Regions from separate parts of the Homo sapiens genome. Here all the other regions are linked to region 2. Evidence: promoter capture Hi-C in 16 types of primary human blood cells and fetal thymus (Javierre and others, 2016). All regions are on one chromosome and are shown on one strand. Each heading gives the region's core, a stretch centred on a gene start or on the middle of the fragment in contact. The rest is flanking DNA. Distances are from core to core; before and after follow the strand shown. Region 1 has its middle 110 kb from the start of GPRIN3. Region 2 holds the start of GPRIN3 (GPRIN family member 3). Region 3 has its middle 90 kb from the start of GPRIN3.

Region 1 (2,700 bases), core at 108-2,607, 110 kb after region 2:
TTATTCTGATAAAGTTACAGTGATTATAATTTTGGAGAAGGAGGGAGAGGCTTTCAGTGGATTCCTGAAAGTGATGATGGTTGAGCTGGGAGTAGGTTTCTCTCAGTGGAGAGGAAATAGTATGAATAAAAGTACGACATTTTGAGATGTAGGTAGTCATCCTCTGGTTTTGATACTGGGCAAAGATGCTTAGGCACTTCAGAGGTTTTCTGGCCCATCTTTCTAATCCTGAGCATAACTTCCCAGAATGGATCTATGGTGTCTCTCATGGCACCCCGTGTATACTGGGAGGCCTAGGTTTTCTCAGTAACTTCCTTATAATTATAAAGAGCATTAACTCTTTAAGATAATGCATGAGTAGATATAATTTCATAAATGGAATTGGTAGAGCTTGAAAAGTTAATGCACTTTCCCAAGTTAGCATCTTAGTTACTTTTCAAAAGCAGGACAAAAACCATTGCTTGTCAGAGTAAGATATAAAGCAAAGAACTCTTTTTCCCCATGAGGTCTAATAGAGCAAATCACCTACAAGGAAGACATTATTTTTTGCCTGAATGGTAGGAGCGTGTGGTGAGTCATGAATCAATAAAAACATTACCATAAGCTATTTAGTGATTCATCTCTTTCTTATTTCTAAAATAGGCTTCAAACAGAAGAACATTTTACTTATATCCTCAGATTGTGCTCTGAGATGCGCTTATAAAATTCTAGGGTCAAACTCTACATTTGACTGCTAGAATAAAATTCCCATTGATGCAAAACTTCAGGAAATTTGTGGTTTGCAGAAGAAAGGTAATAATACTCGTTTCTCTGCTTCCATTTGAGAAAGTTTTTAGATTTTCTTTCCTCTGTAATTAAGTGAAATTGGATCTTACTTTTCATACTTTACTATTTTTGAAAAGCAGATTGCTAAATGTGGCAAACTGTATTTTCCAAAAATGGCCAAAGCAATATTCCCAGGACAAAGTGTTCTAGAACTTTACCATTCCTCTGTCAAGAAGAAGAGTCTATTTCCTTTCCCATTGACACTAGGAAGGCCTTGTGACCACGTAGATTAAAAGAATGTGTATGAGTGACACAGTGTGTCTGTTTCTCTACTCTTCTCTCTTGACCTTGGGTGGACCTTTTTGACCACCCCTGTGAATAAAATGCAGTGAAAGTAATGCTTGTGAGGTTCAGGCAGAAAAAGTCGTACAGCGTCTGCGTGGTTCTCTCACTCTTGGGAAGCTTGCCCTTAGAATTCAGCCACCATGTTGTGAGGAAGCAGAGGCCACATGGAGGGCCCACATGTATATGTTCTGGTTGACAAGCCAGCTATTGTCCTGGCTAACAGCTAATACTGACTGTCAAACATGGAAGTGAGCAAATCATCTGATGTTTCCAGATCCTTGCATTTGAGCCATTCTAGTTGAGGCCAAGATATCACTACCTAATCCTGCTTAAACTGCAGATTTGGGAATAAAATAAGTCTTTTTACTTTAAGCCACTAAGCTTTATGGTGGTTTTCTACACAGCAATAGATAATTGGAACGCTAAACAATAGCAATGAATAAGCAGAATTTTTTTTCATTTCAAGATGTTTCTCAAGATTTAAACAATGCGACTTTAAATAAATTAAAAGATGTATTAATCAATACGTCTATTGTAAAGTAGCAGAAAGAAGATTCAACAATTACTCTGGAACAGAAGCAGAGGAATCCGTTTCAGAATTAGCTCCTATTTTCAACCTCCCATCCCTCTCCATCTCCTAAGTTGATACAGAACTATATGCCTGACATTTAATAGTCAATTGATTTAGGGAAAAATAGGGCTCAGAATTTAGTTAAGGATAGCCAAACTTGTACCTGACTGATTTTCCCCAAGCATTCTGTTTATTGATATGTAATAAATACAAGTCACAAGAAATGGTGCAAGTTCTCTTCATAAGATCCTCTTTCTTCTCATTGTGAACAGATATGCTGCAGAAACCCAATGAACAACCTTTCCAGTGCATTTCTCCCCAGTGTAGAGCAGGCCTTCTTAATCTGTTCAGCCTGCTAATAACAAAATACCATATGCTGGGTAACTTATAAACAACAGAAATTTATTTCTCATACTTCTGGAGGCTGTGAAATCCAAAATCAAGATGCCAGCAGATTCAGTGGCTGGCGAGGGCCTGCTCCTTATAGATGGTCCCTTCTAGCTATGTCCTCACATGGTGGAAGGGTAAAGAAGCTCCCTTGGGCTCTTTTATAAGGGCACTAATCTCGTTCATAAGGGCTCCATCTCATGACCTCATCACCACCCAACGATCCTACCTCTTAATACTATTGCACTGGGGATGAAGTTTTAACAGGAATTTTGTGAGACCACAAACATTCAGACCATAGCACTCACCCATACCCCAGCCTTTTTGCCATCCCTTCCTGCAGCTAATCTTAAGTTATCACTCTCTCAGTTCTTTTTTTAGAGTTGCTAGTGCTAATGAGGGATATCTTAGCTACAGTGACACTAAATCACTCTGCACTAATTTCAGATGAATATTCACTGTTACTCAGCAAGCCTTTTAAAAATTCAGTCCCTGATGACTTCTTTTTGAATTGCTAATAATTTAGAAGTTAGTTGTTCCAGACTTTTCAAAATCCCCTGATCATACTGTGAACTTCTAAGAGATGATCTAAATCCTTTTACATGAAGTTAGAGGCTTTTAGGATTCACTTT
Region 2 (2,700 bases), core at 164-2,663:
CACGCAGGAGATGTGTAAATATTTCATGAAGCAAAGCCTTAATCAACCCTCTCTCCCAAATCTTGCTGGTGTTGTAAACACTTCAGTTTCTTCTAGTCCCACCATGACCCAGATACCTTGCAAAAACAAAATAAAAACATAGTCCAATGGATCTTTAAACAAATGTGTTGTGAAAATATTTAGATGGAGCATACCCAAGTACCGCTTTAACCAAGAGGAAGAAGACACCTTACTCAAAGGTGGGTGCTTCTTGAGTGACTGCTCAGAGCTCTGTTTCTCCCCTCCCCCTCCAAGCCCTTGCCTTTTGCCCACCTCCTCGGCTGCTTTGTGGACATTCACATCGTCTTAACCTTGAACTGCCTACACCCCAAGCGGTGATTTCTCCCAATGGCCCTCCAGAAAGCCCTTGAAACCTGGTCTGGATTCGATGCCTTCCCATCACCCAAAATTCACTTCCCAGTGGCATATTAAGTACCTCTCCTTTTTTCCCTCTTTCACTGTCCATTATTGCGTCTGAAATGATGCCTACATCGTTTCCATCTGCCTGGAGAGCATGAAGATCTTCTGTGTGTGTTGGCTGACAGGCTCCTTCAGACCTCTTCTAAAGCCCATCTTGAAAGAACCGTTTATCACCTCTAGTCTCTACCCTGATTTAATGTGGTTCCAAAGTTCGCCTCTATTAGTGAACATGTCTCTACAACGATTTCCCTTTATCAACCCCTGCCCGCCCTTCCTCTTCTTTCTGCCTACCTCAAGAAAACCTATTTACATATGCATTTATGTATGTGTGTGTATATACACACACATACATACATCCATATGTAATATATATTTCTATGTTTTGACCTTAAAGGGGATAAGCATAGGAAAATGAGACAAATGTCACACACACACACACACACACACACACACCCCTCATATTCGGATATTCGCAGTGTGCAGACCCGATTGATTATAAATTTCCCTGCCCACGATCAGCAGGCGTCTTCTCCCATTTACCTTCAAAGCCAGAGCCAAAGAGAGCAATGACCTTGCAGAGAAATTCATCACCTGCGAGAAAGACTGCCCCTCCTAGAGCGCAGGATGGGACAGAGACAAGAGCAACAGGCAAAGGATCCCTGTGCAAAATGTGGGACCGAATCCCTTCCGCATCCCTACAGAGCACACCACCAGGCTCCGGTCCCCCGCGCTGGCCGCCAGGCGGAGGTGCGCAGGGGGCGTCTCCTACCTGCTCTGCCCGGCTCCGCGGCGCGGCGGGGCCACTGCCTGCGCTGTGGCGGGGGCTTCCCGTCGCATATCCCAAGCACCGTCTCTCGGCGCCACACCGATGGCTCCGGCGGGCCCGCGAGCTGAGGTCCTTCTCAGCCCGGTCCCGGAGCGAGCTCCGTGCGTTCAGGAACTGAAATTACTATGCCAAGAGCAGAGGCGGCGCGCAGCAGTCGGGCGTAGACCGAGGGGGCTGCCCCCACCGCGGGGCTGCAGACGCCGCCGCCGCCCCCGCCGGGCGCAGAGCCAGTTTGGAGGTGAGAGTTCACTTGCCCGACTGTTCATCCGTCAGGCCCGGGGTGTACCCATCTGTCCAGCGCTGCCCAGCCTGAGCATCCGAGAGAGGGGCGACAGCTTTGCAGGCGGCGGCGGCGGCAGCAGCAGCGGCGGCAGCAGGAGGCCGAGCTCCGCCCCCTCCAAACCCCCTCCCCCGCCTTCCCGGTCCTGGGGGAAAGTGTTGCAGCCCAGGCTGCTGAGCGCCGGGCCGGGAGCTAGGAGGGGTCTGGTGGGTTGTGGTTCTGCACCCCTGGAGACCAGAGACAGATGGAAAGTTAAGAAGGGATTAAGGAAGAGGGCTGGGGACCCAGAGCGATTTAGCAGGCATTCTGGCCCTTGCTCCCTCCCACAGGTCACCAGACTCCATGGCTGAGTCTAGACTCTAGCAGAAGGTTTCCAATAAAGCCACGTGCAGTGGAGATCTGAAAGCAAGATCATCCGATAAGTAATATGTTTTGCAAAATGTACAGTATCCTGCGTATTCGGAGAGGCACTGCTGACAGTGTTCCTGTCCCCATCCCCTTCCCGCTACCCCATGGGCTTGGAGGGCTTTGAGGGCTTTGGAAATCTTCCCTGTTGAGCAGCTCCAGAATCCTGAATGGATGTGTAGTATGGTTAGCAGCTGTAGATGGTGCAAAATGATACGATGAAAAGAGCTTCATTATTAACTGGGTATTTGTTGGAAGGCTCTGTGAAAAATGCCTTACATACAGCCTCAGCCTCTTTAATTCTTACTACAACCCATTGAGGTGCCTTACCATGTGGACGAGGAAACAGGCTTATATGATCTAAACACTTTGCTTGAGGTCACACAGTAGTAACCTGCTCAGCTGGGATTCAAACCAATCCAAAATATATCCTCTCATCTAGTACACAGGACTCACCTAGGGGGTCTTGTTAAAATGCTGATTGTGATCCAATAGGTCTGGGGTAGGGACTGAGGAAACGCTTTTTTAGTTTTTTGTTGTTGTTGTTTTTTGTTTTTTGCTTCGTCTCCTAGGCTGGAGTGCAGTGGCGCGCTCTCGGCTCACTGCAAGCTCCGCTTCCCGGGGTCAAGCGATTCTCCTGCCTCAGCCTCCCAAGTAGCTGGGATTACAGGCGCCCACCACCACGCCCGGCTAATTTTTGTATTTTTAGTAGAGACAGGGTTTCTCCACG
Region 3 (2,700 bases), core at 19-2,518, 90 kb after region 2:
ATCCTTCTGAGTATTCTACCTTATACCCATGAATTGTGAGGGTTTTCCTCTCTGGCAGGTGCAAACACAGATTATTCCCAGCTCTGTGTGAGCTTCAGGATTTCCCTTCTGCTCCTTTCTTGTGGTGATTTCCCAGCCTGAGATTATTTTCTCAAGTGCAAGTGTTGAGTAGTCAGTAGCTGAAGACTTGAGGGGCATCCTCAGCAGGTCTCTAGAGCTCTCTCTAGGCAACAGTCTCCTTTCCAGTACTCTTCTCTGTGAACTACAGGTAGTTTAATCTTCTCAGACACCCAATTCCATCTCTCCAACTCAAAAGTCACCAATGAGCTTTACCTAAATGTGACCTCCCTATTCCACAGGCTAAAAATTCCCCATAAATTGTCAGCAGAGGCAACTGCAGAGCTCACTTATTTTGTTTTTTTATCTCTGAGGAATCACTGTCCTGCACTTCCTGATGTTCTATGTCTGAAATACACTGCTTTATATATTTTGTCTGTTTTTTTCCCCATAGATTCAGGTGGCAGGGTAAGTCTAGTTCATGGTACTTCATCTGGGGTGGGGTGAAAATCTCTCAAGGTAGTTTCTGTTAACCGTAGTCACTAGACAGTAAATTTGACTCATTTATATTGCAATGGACTTAAGTTTCCCAGACATAGCCAAGTTCTGGGTCATATACTGGTTCTAGAAACTGTCCTTTAGAGTGTTCTAAGGCTGCCTCATAAGTGCAAGCCTGTTCACATTTTTCTCATAATAAAAATGACCAATCATTAATTTTCTCATTGATGAAATCAGAAAGTGATAATTTTTCTTTTAAAATGATAATACAGTATTCTATAATTTGTCATTAATTTTAATTCAAACTTGCTTATATCTAAGACACTCAACAATTTGTATACCATACACATTTTATTGAGAACCTACTTTGTGCCAAACAGACACTCTTCTAGATGTTAGTAATAGAGCTGATAACAGAAAAGTAAGGTTCTTGAATTCGTGTAATTTATCTTCTCTTGGCATCAGTGAGAAGGCAGCTAACAGAAAAACAAACAAATGTACTAAGTAAAAAAAAAAAAGACTGAAGCCAAAAAAATCAAATAAGGATAACCATAATGCAGGAAATTAAAATAGGATGACTGGACAGCTACTTTCGATTAAGTAGTTGGGACTGCTCCAAAGAAGTTACATGATCTGAAAGAAAAAGGAAAAGTCAAGTGTGAAAAGATCAAGGAAAAAGTTTTCCACATAGAAGAAATAAGTGCAAATGTCATAAGCCAGAAAGTGGACATGAGATGTTTAAGGATGACTCATGTTGGCAGGTGCAAGGAGGAAGGGAGAGAAAAGTCAAGGAGGTCACAGAGGTAGACAAGCATGTGGTTCTTTATAAGGCAGCTCAGGAGTTTGGGTTTTCTTTTGAAGGTGGGAAATCACTAAGGATTAAAAAGGAATGGGATGACATGATCTGATTTACATTGCATATCCCCTCTGACTACTATATGGAGAATTGTAGAGGGGATTATAAAGGAGCAAGGGAAAAAGCAAGAGATCAGTTAGGGGGAGACAGGGTGATAATGGATATGGAAAGGAGTGGATGATGTGGGATGGGTTTTGGTGGTAGACTCAACAGGACTTGATGGATTGAATGTGGAGCATGAAGAAGCATGCCTAGGTTTCGGACTCCAGAAACTGGGTAGATGGCCATATCATTTACTGGGGAATTTTGAAGTGAAAGAAGTTTGTGGAAAAAACAAATAAATAGTCATTTTTGAGCTGTGTCAGTTTTGAGCTATTTACTAGAAAAACTTATTTAGATATGGAGTAGGATTTAGACATATAAATCTGTAGCTCCAGAAACAGAGCAAAGCTAGAGGAGTAGTTTTGAGAATCATCACTAATTGATGGTATCTAAAATGATCAGCTTGGAAGAAGGCACAAAGAAACAGTGTGTGGATAGACAAAAAAAGCGGGGGATCCAGACAGTTGCACCGTGCTGGGTGATGTCAGCATTTGGCGTTTATCAAGGAATAAAAAGAGAGCAAAGGAGACTCAGAAGGGGTGAGCTGTGAGGGGAGAGGAAAACTAGGAAGTGCGTTTTTTCTGTAACCAAAAATAAAAGCACTTTCAAAAATAAAAGAGTGGTCATTATAAACATAGAGGTCATCAGTAACCTTGATTAGAGCAGGCATAGTAGACTGGTAGGGGCAGAAAGGCTGAAGAGAGGATATGGGGTGGAGAAGCAAAAGCCGGTGCTTCTGGACTGCTCTTTAAGGAAGAAGCTGTGCTGTGAAAGGAGCTAAGAAATGGGACAGAAGCTGCAGTGGGTTGAGGTTTTTTTTATTAAAGAGAGGAAATATTCAACATGTTTTAGATAAATGGCAATAATTTATTAGAGAGGCAGAAACTGATGCAAGATAGGAAGTAATTGCAGGAACAGAGTCCTTAAAAACAAAAGGAGAGGGCTCTAGAACACAAGTGCAAGAGTTGGCCTTGGATAGGAGCAGAGCTAGTTCATGCATATTAATAGAAGGGTAGGCTGATTGCTTCAAGAGGCAAAGATGCATGAGCTATTGTCTGATATTTCTATTTTTTTGGTTAATTATGAGGCAAGCTTGTCAGCAGATTGAGGGTTAGAGGAAAAGGAATGCAGGAGGTCTGAAGATATAATAGTAGTGAGTGAAACAGTCATTTAGAAGAATTGCATAA

What was found. Contacts are between HindIII fragments. The CHiCAGO score rates a contact against its expected background, and 5 or more counts as called.
Region 1: a fragment that was not itself captured here is called in contact with the fragment with the promoter of GPRIN3 in region 2 in 5 of 17 cell types (naive CD8 T cells, activated CD4 T cells, naive CD4 T cells and 2 more); the score reaches 7.3 in naive CD8 T cells.
Region 3: a contact is called between a fragment that was not itself captured here and the fragment with the promoter of GPRIN3 in region 2, in 1 of 17 cell types (naive CD4 T cells). The highest score is 5.6, in naive CD4 T cells.

The regions. Positions count from the first base shown.
Region 1 is chr4:89,416,597-89,419,296 of GRCh38, forward strand. No RefSeq gene overlaps it. Among named protein-coding and RNA genes, the nearest start is that of GPRIN3, 110 kb to the left of the region's middle. RefSeq lists an enhancer at 2,368-2,700. The HindIII fragment of the contact is 264 bases long and covers 1,226-1,489 here.
Region 2 is chr4:89,306,387-89,309,086 of GRCh38, forward strand. GPRIN3 (GPRIN family member 3) reads right to left here and starts at 1,414. Exons shown (of 2, transcript NM_198281.3): 1 at 1,229-1,414. RefSeq lists silencers at 1,364-1,413, 1,424-1,493. The HindIII fragment of the contact is 16,857 bases long and covers 1-2,700 here.
Region 3 is chr4:89,396,364-89,399,063 of GRCh38, forward strand. No RefSeq gene overlaps it. Among named protein-coding and RNA genes, the nearest start is that of GPRIN3, 90 kb to the left of the region's middle. The HindIII fragment of the contact is 2,669 bases long and covers 1-2,603 here.